Linked DNA regions of Homo sapiens: regions 1 and 2 are each linked to region 3. The links are contacts of gene promoters, found by promoter capture Hi-C in blood cells and fetal thymus (Javierre and others, 2016). All regions are on one chromosome and are shown on one strand. The core of a region is centred on a gene start or on the middle of the fragment in contact, and the rest is flanking DNA. Distances in the headings are between cores, read along the strand shown. Region 1 overlaps VSIG4 (V-set and immunoglobulin domain containing 4). Region 2 has its middle 6.7 kb from the start of MIR223HG. Region 3 holds the start of MSN (moesin).

The links. Contacts are between HindIII fragments. The CHiCAGO score rates a contact against its expected background, and 5 or more counts as called.
Region 1: a fragment that was not itself captured here is called in contact with the fragment with the promoter of MSN in region 3 in 2 of 17 cell types (neutrophils and non-activated CD4 T cells); the score reaches 6.0 in neutrophils.
Region 2: a contact is called between a fragment that was not itself captured here and the fragment with the promoter of MSN in region 3, in 2 of 17 cell types (non-activated CD4 T cells and M0 macrophages). The highest score is 6.4, in non-activated CD4 T cells.

What each region holds. Positions count from the first base shown.
Region 1 is chrX:66,025,488-66,030,066 of GRCh38, reverse strand. It overlaps VSIG4 (V-set and immunoglobulin domain containing 4), which reads left to right. Exons shown (of 8, transcript NM_007268.3): 4 at 1,955-2,017; 5 at 2,541-2,618. Among named protein-coding and RNA genes, the nearest start is that of MIR223, 8.9 kb to the right of the region's middle. The HindIII fragment of the contact is 1,268 bases long and covers 1,398-2,665 here.
Region 2 is chrX:66,006,414-66,011,138 of GRCh38, reverse strand. No RefSeq gene overlaps it. Among named protein-coding and RNA genes, the nearest start is that of MIR223HG, 6.7 kb to the left of the region's middle. The HindIII fragment of the contact is 324 bases long and covers 3,314-3,637 here.
Region 3 is chrX:65,664,667-65,669,099 of GRCh38, reverse strand. It overlaps MSN (moesin), which reads right to left and starts at 1,446. Exons shown (of 13, transcript NM_002444.3): 1 at 1,247-1,446. The coding sequence starts at 1,258. RefSeq lists a silencer at 1,425-1,754. The HindIII fragment of the contact is 6,503 bases long and covers 1-4,433 here.

The DNA.
Region 1 (4,579 bases), core at 782-3,281, 360 kb before region 3:
GACACCTTTGTTGGCTCTTTTTTCATTCACTCCTTAATTGTAAATGTTCTCAAAGACTCAATTCTTATTCATCTCTGCATGTATTTCTATATTATCAGGAGATTTTATTTACTTCTGTGGCTTCAAATATCACCTGTAGTCTGATGACTCTCCAACCATAATATTATCTGTATTTATTTTTTCCTGACTGCTAGATCCCAGTGTCTAGTTACCTTCTGGACAGCTTCATTTCTAATTTCAGCGTGTTCAAAACTGATCGTACCTTTTACTCACCAAACCTGTTCCTCAAACCTGTTAGAAAACATAGCAGTACCTTTGACTCCTCCTTCTCTTTTACCTCGCATCGTCAAATAATCATCAATATTACCAAGTGCTGTGAATTCACCTACTGAATCAGATACCTTATTAGGCTCTTTCTTTCTCTTCCTATACCCTCATGGTCTCATATTCTTTTTTAAAAAACAATTTCAATCATCTTCTAAATGTTCTCCCCATGTTCATACATTCTTACGAAGTCATCAACTTATTCAATATTTATTGAGTATATATTTTATGTCACTAGATTATAAAATTCAAGAGTGCAGAATTCTACCTGTCTACTTCATTGCTGTTTTTCAGAGCCCAGCAAAGTATCTGGCACAAAGAAGACACTAGACACTAGATGAATACTGTATTTGTTAATGAATGGGGAAAATATGCTATTGCCTTACCTTTGAAAATCCTACCACACTGTTGTCAGAATTATTTCCAAAAAAAATAGACTGAACAATTTTTGCTTCCTTTCTCAAAAGGAAGTAAACCTTTCTCAAAAGGTGTAACCTTCTGTTACACCCCATGGATCTTTCCAACTAAAGAACAAAGCCCAAACCCTTTTAGTCTGTTTTCAGCCTACCTATCCAGACTTATCTACTAATATGTTTCGCCACATCTAAAACGGAGCATGCTGTTTCCTCTGCTAGCAAGAGGGAGAAGCTTATGGTTTTCTCATGTCTTTTCTGAGCAGGTACATGGCCCTGTGCTTGTGTGTGGCCTCCTAGTTTCCCAGAACTGTGTCAGAACTCTTCAAAATCCCTATGGAAATCTTATTCCTCAACCATTTTTAAGGCTATTTTGGTTAGTTTTTTTTGTTTTCTCGCCTATTATCCATTGCCTCAGGCAGCTGTGTGACAAATGCTACCCCATCCCTGGGGAGAGGCTCTTAGCACTGGGTGACCAATAAAACAAGTCTTTTGAGTCAGGTCTTTCAGGGAACCACCAGACAGGCCAAATAATGGCAATTATTCAAAAATGAAGTTTGTTGGGCTCACTCCAGCACCTGGAATGGGGTTGTATGTTCAAGATTACCTCTGAGGTAGAAGGGGTAAGGGGACTAGGAGAAGTTAAAACAGCACAAAGCTTGCTGTTCTTACCAAAACTGGGATATTTTTCTTCCATAAATCCTGTCTAAGGTGCTGCAAACCTTTGGCTATTTTGCAAAATTCTAAAAAAAAAAAAAAAAAAAAAAAAAAGTTGATTACGTCAAATTTTGCATTATTTCACTGATGTTGTTAAAGGGTAAATTTCTGGAGGTTATTATGTCACCATTTTCACTGATGTCACCCATTGCCACTTTCTTTATGATACTTCCCAAGTTTCTCTCAAGAGAATTAATTACTAGGTCTCAGTTAGAAGTTAGTAAAAATAAAATATATTTTCCCATCCAAGTTGACTGACTCTCTGAACTCTAGCTACAGGTTCCTTCGAGATCTATTAATCCTGGGTTAAAAACTCTGTCCTTGATTGATGTATGAAAGATGAACAAGCAACACAGGACTTACCAGCATCATGACAGAAGTGTTGAGGCAGGTCCAAGTATGGACCTGAATGGCCTTTACTTACTTCCTATTTCCCTAGGGCATTAAACTATTCACCAAAGGGTACCAGGTCCCTTCAATCGGTTCCCTTTTCCTTGCAGACTCCTCAAAGCTACTCAAGACCAAGACTGAGGCACCTACAACCATGACATACCCCTTGAAAGGTGAGTTTTGCTAGAGTCTGAGGAAGTAGTAGAGGTTCAAAATGGTGTCATCGTAGCCAAGAAAGGAATCACAATGCCATGGAATGGCTAATAAACAGTCACTTGGTTCCTCAGAGAGAACATAGCAGTAAAGGAATGGAAACAAAAGAAAGGTAACAATGATGAATATATACTCTTTTTTTGTGAAAACTTCTGAGGCAAAAGGAAAGAGAGGGTTAGAATTACTCCCATTGGAAATACAAAAAACAAGAACACTAAATTCTATTCTGCTCCTAGTTTGACTTGCTGTGTGACTTTGGGTACATTACCTCCCCTCGATGGGAATTCTTCTCACTGCCCACACCTAACAGTAAGAAATGAAGATGCCTTATCTCATGGTACTAGTGGTTGATAACATGGTCAGGTACCCTGGAAAGTACAGCACAAATGGCCAGGGAAGGACTCCAACCTTTGCAACCATCTCCTATCTCTCAACTTTTTGAAAGAAGAGAGACATCTCTGACCCTATTCTCTATATTCATAGCAACATCTACAGTGAAGCAGTCCTGGGACTGGACCACTGACATGGATGGCTACCTTGGAGAGACCAGTGCTGGGCCAGGTAGGAATATTGTCAGGATTTCTATCTTTTCTTCTTGACTCTAAGCTTTGTGACCAAAACTTTCCCTTATGCACACTGTTCTACAGCATTGAAATCTGCAAATCATTACCTGCTATGTGCCAAGCAATGGTCAAGGGCACTGAGGATGGGTAAAGTGGGTAGGATGTAGAGAGAGAGATACAGATCCAGAGATGAGCAAAGTCAGAGTGAGGTTAAGGGGAGTGATAAATGTGCCCTTTATTTAGTTCTCTGTTGTCATAGTAATATGCTTTCCAAACATTCTGAGCAAGAATATGGATAGGGACATTATGACATCATGACCTCAACCAGGTAAGGATAATGGCTGAGTGTCATTGCTTGAGCTCTTAACCAGGGCTCTTCAAGCCGCTTGAAGCTGATTTCTGATTCCTCCAAAGCCTTGAAAATTCCCAAGTCAGGGTCTCAGAGATTCAAATCCCAAATAAATCTTTTGTGTTTCACCTGCATCTGATAGTCAGTTGGTATGCCTTCACATGACTACATTGACTGTTGAAATAATAGAACACTCTCACACCAATTGATAATTAGCTGCTCCCCTTAACCCCTGAGCCCTCCATTATTACCTGGGGCTGCCTTGTCCCATTCCTCAGAACTCTCTAGACCACCCCCATGGTCATGCAACAAAAGGTATACCAAGGAATCTCTAAGACTCCAAGTCTACAGTAGGCATCTGTTGTGACTGGTTGGAATTAAATAGTTTGATAACTATCACTCCTGGTACTCATTCTCTGCCTGTGTATAATTGAGAGAGTGGACTTCCAAATGCTCTTTGTAACTCTCCATTCCTGATTGCAGAGTTTTTTGGCTATCCCTTGGCAGCACTCAAACCTGTTTTATGTTCCACATTTGCATTGCCATCTTTGGCTTCAAGATTTCCATAGCTCCGTTCCTCTCCGAGAAGAACATCTACTGGGAGAAGAGAAGTTAGAAATTGCCTCATAGGGAGTTGGTTTGGAAAAATGAGAAAATAACCTTGGGCAAAGTTATTAGATGTTGGGTCTGCGCCCTATTTTCTCTACCAAGTTTTTTAGTACTTGACTCTCTTCAAAAGAGAATATTTCTTCGATTTGTACCAGCTTATAACTTGAGCTCTCTCAGTCCCAACAAGACACTCTGAGGACCACAAATACTGGATTCCTAGGACACGATATCTTAGAGTCTCATGAAAACAAGCCAGTTGCAGCAACAAATCCTAAGTACACTGAGGTTCCTTTCCTCACGCCTCTCTATCCCCCCTGACCTAGCATCTTAGATTCAGAATATTATAGCTAAAAGTGCTTTAGACATCATCCAATCTTTTCATTGAACTTATGGGGTAACTAAGGCCTAGTGACAGTCAAAGTTTTGTCTAAGGTCACTGTATTCATTTTTCCATGGCTGCTGTAAAAACTTACCCCAAACCTAGTATCTTAAAACAGCATAAATATATTATCTTCCACTTCTGGAAATAAGTCTGACACAATTATCACTGAGCTAAAATCAAAATGTCAGTCAGCAAGGCTATGTTCCCTTTGGAGGGTTTGGAGAAGAATTAATTTCCTTGTCTTTCTTTTCTGGCTTCTAGAAGCTACCCACGTTCTTTGGCTCATGGCCCCCTTCCTCCATTTTCAAAACTAACAATGTAGCATTCTCAAATCTCTGTTCCTTTTTACTATGTAAACTAACATACTGACAGGTTCCAGGAATTTGGATGTGAATATCTTTAGAGGACCATTATTCTGCCTACCATAGTCATACAGAAAGTAAATAACAGATCTAGGACTGGAAGCCAAGTCCAGTTGATTCTTTCAGCTTTTAGGCATAATGGGAATATGTGTCTCAAGTGGCTCAGTGGAAATATGTTTTGAGAAAGAAGGAAGCTGGGGACTTGACCAGAGCGTGTGATGGGAAGAATCTTTGTGGCTAGAAGTAACTGACCAGAA
Region 2 (4,725 bases), core at 2,226-4,725, 340 kb before region 3:
TATAAAGGTTCTGAGATGGAGAATAATGTGGCATATTCCAAGAAGATAAAAGGCTGGTATGGCTTGAAAAAGAGTGAGCAAAGGAAAAAATAGCACAAAGCAAATAGAAGAGTTAAGCCGGGGGCCAAACTAAGAAAGGACTTGTATGCTATGTTGGGCGTTTGAGACATGAGAAGCCAGAAAGTGTATATATGTGATGCAGTGCCCTTCTATATTCAAGCCTAGGATTTTAGGGGTCCAGACTATGGCAACAAACAGGAAAAAAAAGTTAATTTCAACTGGTTGGATTAGAGACTTCACAGAAGAGGCCGAATTTTAAAAGAGCCTTGAAGGATAACAGGATCAATAATCAGAGAAAGGCATTTCAGGCAGAGGAAAGAACCCAAGTAAAGGTGCAGAGATAGGAAAGAATATGGTGAGCTTGTGTGAATAGGGAGACTACCGATACAAAATGGCAAATATAAGCCTGAGAGCATTTTTAAGTATCTATAGATATCGTAGAATAATAGTAGCCCAAAGGCCTATCCAACACACCAAATGTGCTCTGGAGGAAACCTGGCAAAGAGGTTCGACCTATCAGGAGATCCATTTTGTACTGGAATAACAATAATTAACAAGTATTGTGAGCTTACTAAGTGCCAGGCACTGTTTGAAGCCCTTTACATATGTTAGTTTATGTAATCCTAACAACAACCTTATGAGGGAGATACTATAATTACCTATTAAATGGCAGATGTAGGATATAAATATCATGCAACAATTTATGAAAGGTAGAAATTTTGGAGCAATCTACAAAAAAATATACAATATGTCTCTGGCTGGAAAATGTCAAATTCAAGTCAGTTATCATCTCAGTCTTTAAGGGCAGTTTTTTCCAAGAAAACCTCATTAATTTCCAATTTATGATTGTTAGATAAGTCTGAGCTGAAGCTTTTGTTTAGCTTCTTAGAAAGACAAAATAAATGAAGTAAATAAAATAGGAGTTCCAGGGAGTTGTTTAAAGACAGAAAACCAAACTGGTTCTACTTACTACCCATACCTCACTCCCACTTAGAGTCCTTCAGAACCTTCCATCTATGGCAGAAATAACTGAAGTGACCCTAATCAACCATTTTAATCTATTTCCTATAATGGCCCACCTAAAGGTTTTTACTAAGCAGTAGCTGTTTTTGTTTTGTTTGTTTGTTTTTTTCTTAAAATGAGTAAAGAGTTTATCTGGGCCAAGCTTGAGAGCTGCAACTCAGGAGCATAGATTCGAGTTGCCCTAAATATACACTCCCTTGGGAAAAATTTTAAATGGACAATGAAGAAATGAATGAGGAATCAACTTTCAATAGCCTATTGTAAATAGTATATTTGGAAGGAACAAACATGTATTTATTTAAAATATATATTCTCACTCTAGTCTGTCTCTCACTCCCACTATTCACATCACACCTGTAGTCCCAGCTACTGGGGAGGCTGAAGCAGGAGGATCACTTGAGCCCAGGAGTTCAAGGCTGTAGTGCACTATGGTCACCTGTGAATAGCCACTGCACTCCAGCCTAGGCAACAGAGGAAAACCTTGTCTCAAAAAATAAATAAATAAGAGGAAATTCTGTCATTTTCAACAACATAAATGGAATTGGAGATTACGTGAAGTGAAATAAGCCAGGCACAGGAAGACAAATGCCACATAATCTCACTTACAGGTGGATTCTAAGATAATGAAAGTTATAGAAGCGGAGAGTAGAATGACGGTTACAGAGGCTTGGGGGTGGGTGGAATGGGGAGATAATTTTCAAAGGGTACAAAGTTTCAGACAGAAGGAATAGGGTTTTTTTGAGATCTATTGCACAGCATGGTGAATACAGTTAATAATAGTATATTGCATGTTTCAGAATTGCTAAGAGAGTACATTTCAAATTATTCAACAAATTATAAGTATTTGAGACAATGGATATATTAAATTTAATTACTCCACATTGTATTCATAAATCATAACATCACTTTGTATCCCACAAATACAATTATAAATTTACAATAAAAAATTAAATGAATATATCTATATATCTGTATGTATCTATATATCAGTATAGAGATATTTCCTAATTCAGACTGGGGTAGTTGCCCGTGATATCATTGACTTGGCACACACAGACTATTTTCATCTTCTTAGTTTGTCTTCTGAGTAAAGGAAGGGCAAGAATTGTGCCTTTTGGGAAACAAAAAGAAAATTTAGAACAGACCCTTGAGCTTTCACCACAGCTAAACATTTGCTAGAACTAGATTTGGCACTGATTCAGGAATCAGTCAATCCCTAAAAAATTGATACCTCATGGGGTTACAAAGTGGAATCCTGAGAGCTCCTGTAAAGGCCAGATAATGCAAGGTAAGAAGCAGAAAAGCTTCATATTGGCATCAGAAGGGACACTGCCTTCTATTATCGGTTCTAGGCAGAATAGGAAGTGGGAATTGGAAGAAAAACACTTTTGTTGAGTACTTATTATGTACCACCTACTCTCACTCTCTATTACATCACTTATTACTCTCAATAACCTTATAAAATAGGAAGTGGGAATTGGAAGAAAAACACTTTTGTTGAGTACTTATTATGTACCACCTACTCTCACTCTCTATTATATCACTTATTACTCTCAATAACCTTATAAAATAGGAATCATTTCTATTTCGCAAATGTAGGCATTGAAGCATGAAGAAATTAAGCAACTTCCTTCAACGTCACATATTTAGTAAGTGGCAAAGCTGAGATTTATAATTTTGTCAGAATTTAGAATTCCAAATTCTAAAATTAAGAAGTTTATTGCTAAGATGGCATAAGAGAGGCTACTCAATGACTCACCATATCCTTTGGCCCCCTCAAACCCTGCTGCCTAGCTGTTTCCCGTAGCCTTAAAGAAAAAAGGGGTTTATTCCACTCAATTGCAAACTCCATGAGAGCAGGAACCATGTCTGTCATACCCAGTTTTCAATTAGACTGCTGATTTCTTTTTCTTAATTGATTTTGGGTGTACTTTGTATGTTAGAGAAATTTTTCCTTTGTATGTAATGAGAATTGTAATTATTTCCACTAGTTTGTCATTTGCCTTTTGACTTTGCTTCTACCATGTTATAGTTTTGTTTATTGTTTATGTCCCCTACTAGAGTGTAAGCTCCATGAGGGTAGTTATTTTATTTTATTCTTAACTATATCCCTAGTGCTAGAGCTGTCTTGTTTATAATAGTAGGTTCTCAGCAAATATTTGTTCATGAAAAAAAAATCTTCCTGTTCTGCAAGACCAGAAAATGAGGTAATATCTGAATACTGAAAGCTTTGACCTTCCTTGGACTCTGGTTCCTGATGACCTGGTTCCTGGAAGCCATCAGGTTTGAAGGTTCATTGAAAATAGCTCTAGGCAGAGTGTCAGGAGACCTGAGTTCCAGGCCCAGCTGTGTCATGGCTTATAACATGACCTTGGGAAGTTTTCTTTTTGCTCTGGGTATTGGTCTCCCTGTATCAGTTCATTCTCATATTGCTGTAAAGAAATACCTGAGACTGGGCAATTTATATATTTTTAAAAAGTTTAATTGGCACATAGTTCTGCAGGCTGTACAGGAAGCATAGCAGCATCTGCTTCTGGGGAGGCCTCAGGAAGCTTCCCATGGTGGAAGACAAAGGGGTGCAGGCACATCACATGGTAAGAGAGATCAAGGAGAAAGGAGGGAGGTGTTACACACTTTTAAACAACCAGATCTCATGAGAACTTAATCACTTTTGCAACAACAGTACCAAGGGGGATGGAGTTAAACCATTCATGAGAAACCACCCCCATGATCCAATTATGTCCCACCAGGCCCCACCTCCAACATTGGGGATTACATTTCAACATGAGATTTGGGTGGGGACACATATCCAAACTATATCACTCCCTCACTCTCCATTTCTAAATAGGGTGAACTGTATGGTCTTTGAAGGGCCCTCTTCTCTCTCCCATTCACAGATTGGTCAAGTGGTCTAGGTAACAAGGGTGTCAAAGATAGCAAGACTGACCAAGGCCCTGCCTTCCTGGAACTCATATTCAAATGAGGGACACAGGCACTTGCCAAAGTATGTCAGGATGAAAATATAAGTATTATACAGGATAAATATAGAGTATTATAAGAGCAAATAATAGTAAACCTAATCTGGTATGAGAGTTTAGGGAAGACTTTCTTCAAAAAATATTTAAGACCTAAAGAATGATCTAGACTAAGTAAAGTTCTCAGGCCTTGTATATATGTGTACATACATAATATTAATATTAATTATACTATATTTATATTACTAGTTACCTAATTTTTCATTATTATAATGAATATGATTATTTGTTGTACATAACATAGTGATACTATGTAATATATAATATATATATCACTATATACTATAATTTATAGTGATATTATAAACATTATTTATATTATATATATATATACATATATATATATATATATACATATATATATATATATATATATATATACTCACCTAACATGTGAAAAAAGCTTTCTAAACTGCAAAGTGATAATACAACTGTGAGGGATGAATTTTCTCATTTGTCTAGGGATTTCTTTTGACCTGTTTTGGACCTCCATGGGTGGCCCTCAATGAAGGTTTCTTTGAGACTGGACCTGAACCTGAATCTGAGTCCCCTTGGGATTTGTAGGGCGACCTGCTGGTGCACTTATTGGTACAAAGTAGATATAATC
Region 3 (4,433 bases), core at 197-2,696:
TTTCTGAAGGACAAGGTTCTGGAAAGGCAAGAACGACTTGGCAGTGAGGCTGGTATACAGTAACGTGGCAACCAAAGCTCATCACAAACCCAAAAGGCTGGGCCCCCAACTCTCCTCCTCTCATCCCAGGGGACCTTCAGCCCTTTTCAAGGCTACTAGTCACTATCTCACCTCTACAAGGCTCAAGCAGTCCTGGGGAGACATGTTTGGGAGCACTGCATTGCCTAGGCCAGCTCAACAAGCTGTTTGGCCTAAGGGACTCAAGCCAGGGTGGTCACCAGGCCTTTCTGAGCAAGGGAAGGGCCTCAGCAGCCATTTGGCATGACTTGCACAAAAGCAAGCAGAGCTCATTAGTCAGGCACACCCCTCCTCCCCTCTCCCTCCTGGGCATCCGGCCCCCCTATCCCCACTCCCAGGAGGCTTCTGTTCCTCTCGTAACAGCCAGTGGGGTGGAGACGCATCCCCAAATCAACCACCACTCTAGAAAGGTGTGGCCCCACGAGAAAACCCACACCACACAAAATAGTCCGGAGGGGATAGGAGGAGATAGAGAGGCATTAAGCAATAGGAGGGGCAGGGATTTGGAGGTGGAGAGGAGGGAGAAACCGGTCCTCTCTCCCAGGAGATGGGGTAGGCCTCTCCTCAGACTGGTGCCTAAATAAGTGTTGGTGCTCTCGGGTGCAGCCTCGATGACGATTTCCTCACATCTCTCTCCTCACCTCCTAGTGGAAAACAGCTGGAGCCACCCGGTGAGGCTGTGGGAAAGATGAGTGGGGGTGCCGGATCCGCCCCGAGCGGCTCCCTCCTTTCTCCCTGCTTCTCTGTTCCCATGTCCCCTCTTGGACATTGGCAGCCTTGCCCCAGAAAGGTGCCAATTCCTGGGTTGGGGAAAGTGTTGTCTTCTGGACCAGAATCCTCTCCTCTGTGCCCATGGCCCATCAGGGAAAAGGGGAAACCCCAGGCCCCAACGAAGCCGTCCTGACTGTTGCATCTCAGACACAGGGAACTGGAACCTGAGAAAGAGGCAGGCCTCGCCCCGTCCAAACTTCCAGCCTGGACACCCCCTCAACCCCTGAGGGCGCACCAGACCAGGATCCCACTCCGGTCCCCTCCCTACCCTTGGCTATGGCGGAGGGCGCGGCGTCCCAGGCGGGCCGGTGGCTGGCCAAGCCCTCAGCCATCAGCAAAGGGCTATGAGGCTCAGCCAGAGCCATTGGGGTCGACAGCGCCCACCTCCGGCACTCACCGTTTTGGGCATGGTGGCGGCAAAGGCAGCGGAGTTGGCGAAGTTTAGCTAGGACTGTCGGGCAGTGCTGAGCACGCAGTACACACGGCTTGGATTCGGCTGGCCGGGGACTCAGATTGGGTCCCTCACTAGCGTCGGGGCGACTGTTAGGCTTCCTGCTAACGGGCCACGACTTCACAAACCCCACCCAGGAAAGAGCCGCCCCTGTCGCGCCGCCCGCTCCTTTATGTGGCCCGGCTTCCGCGCCGCTCCCCGCCCTCGCGCCCGCCTCCCCGCCGACCGCTGGCCTTGCCCCGCCCAGCCCCGCCTGGCCAGGCCCGGCGCAGCCAGGCCACAGCGGCCACGTGGGGGGCCCGGCTGGGCCCGGGCGGACCTAGGGTAGCTACCACTCCCCACCCAGACCCACCCGGCTCCTCTCCCACCCTGGTCACAGCCCCTAGCCTTCCACGTCCTGGCCTTCCAGCCCCACCCCCACTCAGGGCCCAGACCCTGGGCCCTGACAGATGCTTACTCAGCCCCTGACTGCAACTTTCCACTGATGGGGAGCTCACTACCTATCTTTTCCTTCTCTAGACAGCTCTGGCTCTTAGAAAGTTCTTGCCGTGTCTGAACTCCTTTTCTCTATGGCTTCCATCCATGGATCTCAGTTCTGCTCCCTGAGGCCACACAGATCCCCTGTTGTCCCTAACAGCTCCTCAAAGGCCTGAAGATCTCAGGTCCACAGGAAACTTCTCTTCTTTTGGCTAAACTGCCTCACCTCTTAAAACACTTCATCCATTCTCTTCCGTAGGACTCTCCCCATCATATTTCCTACCCATCCTTGCTCAGTCCTCATTTATCTTTCCTTCATCTAAATCCCAGTCTTCACCTTCCTCAAATCAGTGACCTGATCCTTTAGCCCCTCTCCCAGTACATTCACTTTCTGATGTCCTGATGGGGCTGGCTATAATTCCCTCAGGTTAGATGTGACCTCCCTAGTCCACACCCTTGGGGTTTGTCTGCCAGCTCCCTTTCTCCTTCTTGTCAAGGTCACAGAATCCCAGGATGGCAGTGTTCTAGACTGTTGAAGTCGTCTGGTCAAGTCTGAGTTTTAGGCTGAGTGCGGTGGCTCATGACTGTAATCTTAACACTTTGAGAGGCTGATGCAGGAGGATTGCTTGAGCCCAGGAATTCGAGACCAGCCTGGGGAGCATATCAAGACCCCCTCCCATATCTATACAAAAAAAATAAGTGAGAGCCGGGCATAGTGGCTCACTCCTGTAATCCCAGCACTTTGGGAGGCTGAGGCGGGCTGATCACCTGAGGTCAGGAGTTCAAGACCAGCCTGGCCAACATGGTGAAACCCCGTCTCTACTAAAATTACAAAAATTAGCCGGGCACGTGCCTGTAATCCGAGCTACTCGGGAGGCTGAGGAGGGAGAATCGCTTGAACCCGGGAGGCGGAGGTTACAGTGAGTCAAGACTGAGCCAGTGCACTCCAGCCAGGGCAACAGAGTGAAACTCTGTCTCAAAAATAATAATAATAATAGTAAGTGAGACCATGTGCAGTGGCTTACACCTGTAATCCTACCACTTTGGGAGGCCAAGACCTGCAGATCACTTGAGGTCAAGAGTTTGAGACCAGCCTGCTCAACATGGCGAAACCTCATCTCTATTAAAAATGCGAAAAAAAAAAACAAAAAAATTAGCCGGGTGTGATGGCACGTAGTTCCAGGCACTCGGGAGGATGAGGCAGGAGAATCGCTTCCGGGAGGCGGAGGCTGCACTGAGCCCAGATTGGGCCACTGCACTCCAGCCTGGGCAATAGCACAAGACTCCGTCTCCAAAAAAAGTAAAATAAAATAAGTCCGAGTTTTAGTTTGAAAGTGGCTGGCCATAGTCCTTTTTTCCTCCTCTCCACTGGCAACCATGTGAAGGCATGGTCTGAGTATCCTTTGTGAGGTAAGGCACCACAGATGGTAAGCCAGTTTGAGACAATGGAAAGGATACTTGAGAGGTCAGGACACCTGGCTTCTACGTATAGCTCTGCCATTAACTCATCCTATGACCACTATGTGGCCTTGGGTAATTCCCTCCCCCTCTCTGGGCTTGAGTTTCCATTTCTGTAGCAAGAAAGGACTGGACTCCGGGGCTTCCAAGGTCCTTTCCCACTCTGACATTATAAAGGGATGAGAAAGGAAGTATACTCCCTAGGACAATAGATGAGCCTAACAGGATTGCATATGGGCTGGTCTTGCATTTGCACTCAGGAACCAGTAGTCTGATTCCATCCTCTTCCTTTGCCTTCCCAGACCAACAGTGTCCACGATTCAGTGTGCCTCGGTTTCTCTCACTGCTAACAAGATTCATTGATGTGTGCTAGGGTAAACAAAGTTCCCTGCCAAGATCATTTCCTTGAGCTAAGCATTTGTTCAAAGAGCAGCACTCATCGGAAAGCCCAAACAGTCTCCATGAGCAGTTGTCCCCAAGGAAGAGCAGCACTCACCAGAAAGCCTCAGCAGCAGGAGTAGCAATGACAGCTCATCACACGCCTTAATACTGCCATTGGCCCTTTTCCACCAGATGTTCAAGGAACTCAACTGATTTCTTCACTCATGTTCACCTAGAACCTACAGGGACCTGGCATGAAGCTAAATGCCTAAAGACAAAGAATTTACTTGGCGACTCCAACTTTCTGGAAAGTGGAAACTCCCTTGTGTCATTCCCCACCTCCCATGCCAACCACTCCCCACAACACACATACACAGGGGAGAGTTGGGTAGAGAGTGTCAAGTAGCTGAAGACACTACTAAAAGGGAAACAAGGACCAGGTGTGGTGGCTCACACCTGTAATCCCAGCACTTTGGGAGGCTGAGGCAGGCAGATCACTCGAGGTCAGGAGTTCAAGACCAGCCTGGCCAACATGGGAAAACCCCATCTCTACTAAAAATACAAAAATTAGCTGGGTGTGGTGGCATGTGCCTGTAATCCCAGCTACTCGAGAGGCTGAGGCAGGAGAATTACTTGAACCCAGAAGGCAGAGGCTGCAGTGAGCAAAGATCATACCACTGCACTCCAGCCAGGGTGACAGAGCAAAACACTGTCTTAAAAAAAAAAAAAAAGAAAGGGGGCATAGAAGTCCAAGCAGGGGCAGGGGGTGTCAGAGGCTCGGGGAGCTAAGAAATAGGGGGAAAGGGGCTGAGGGAGA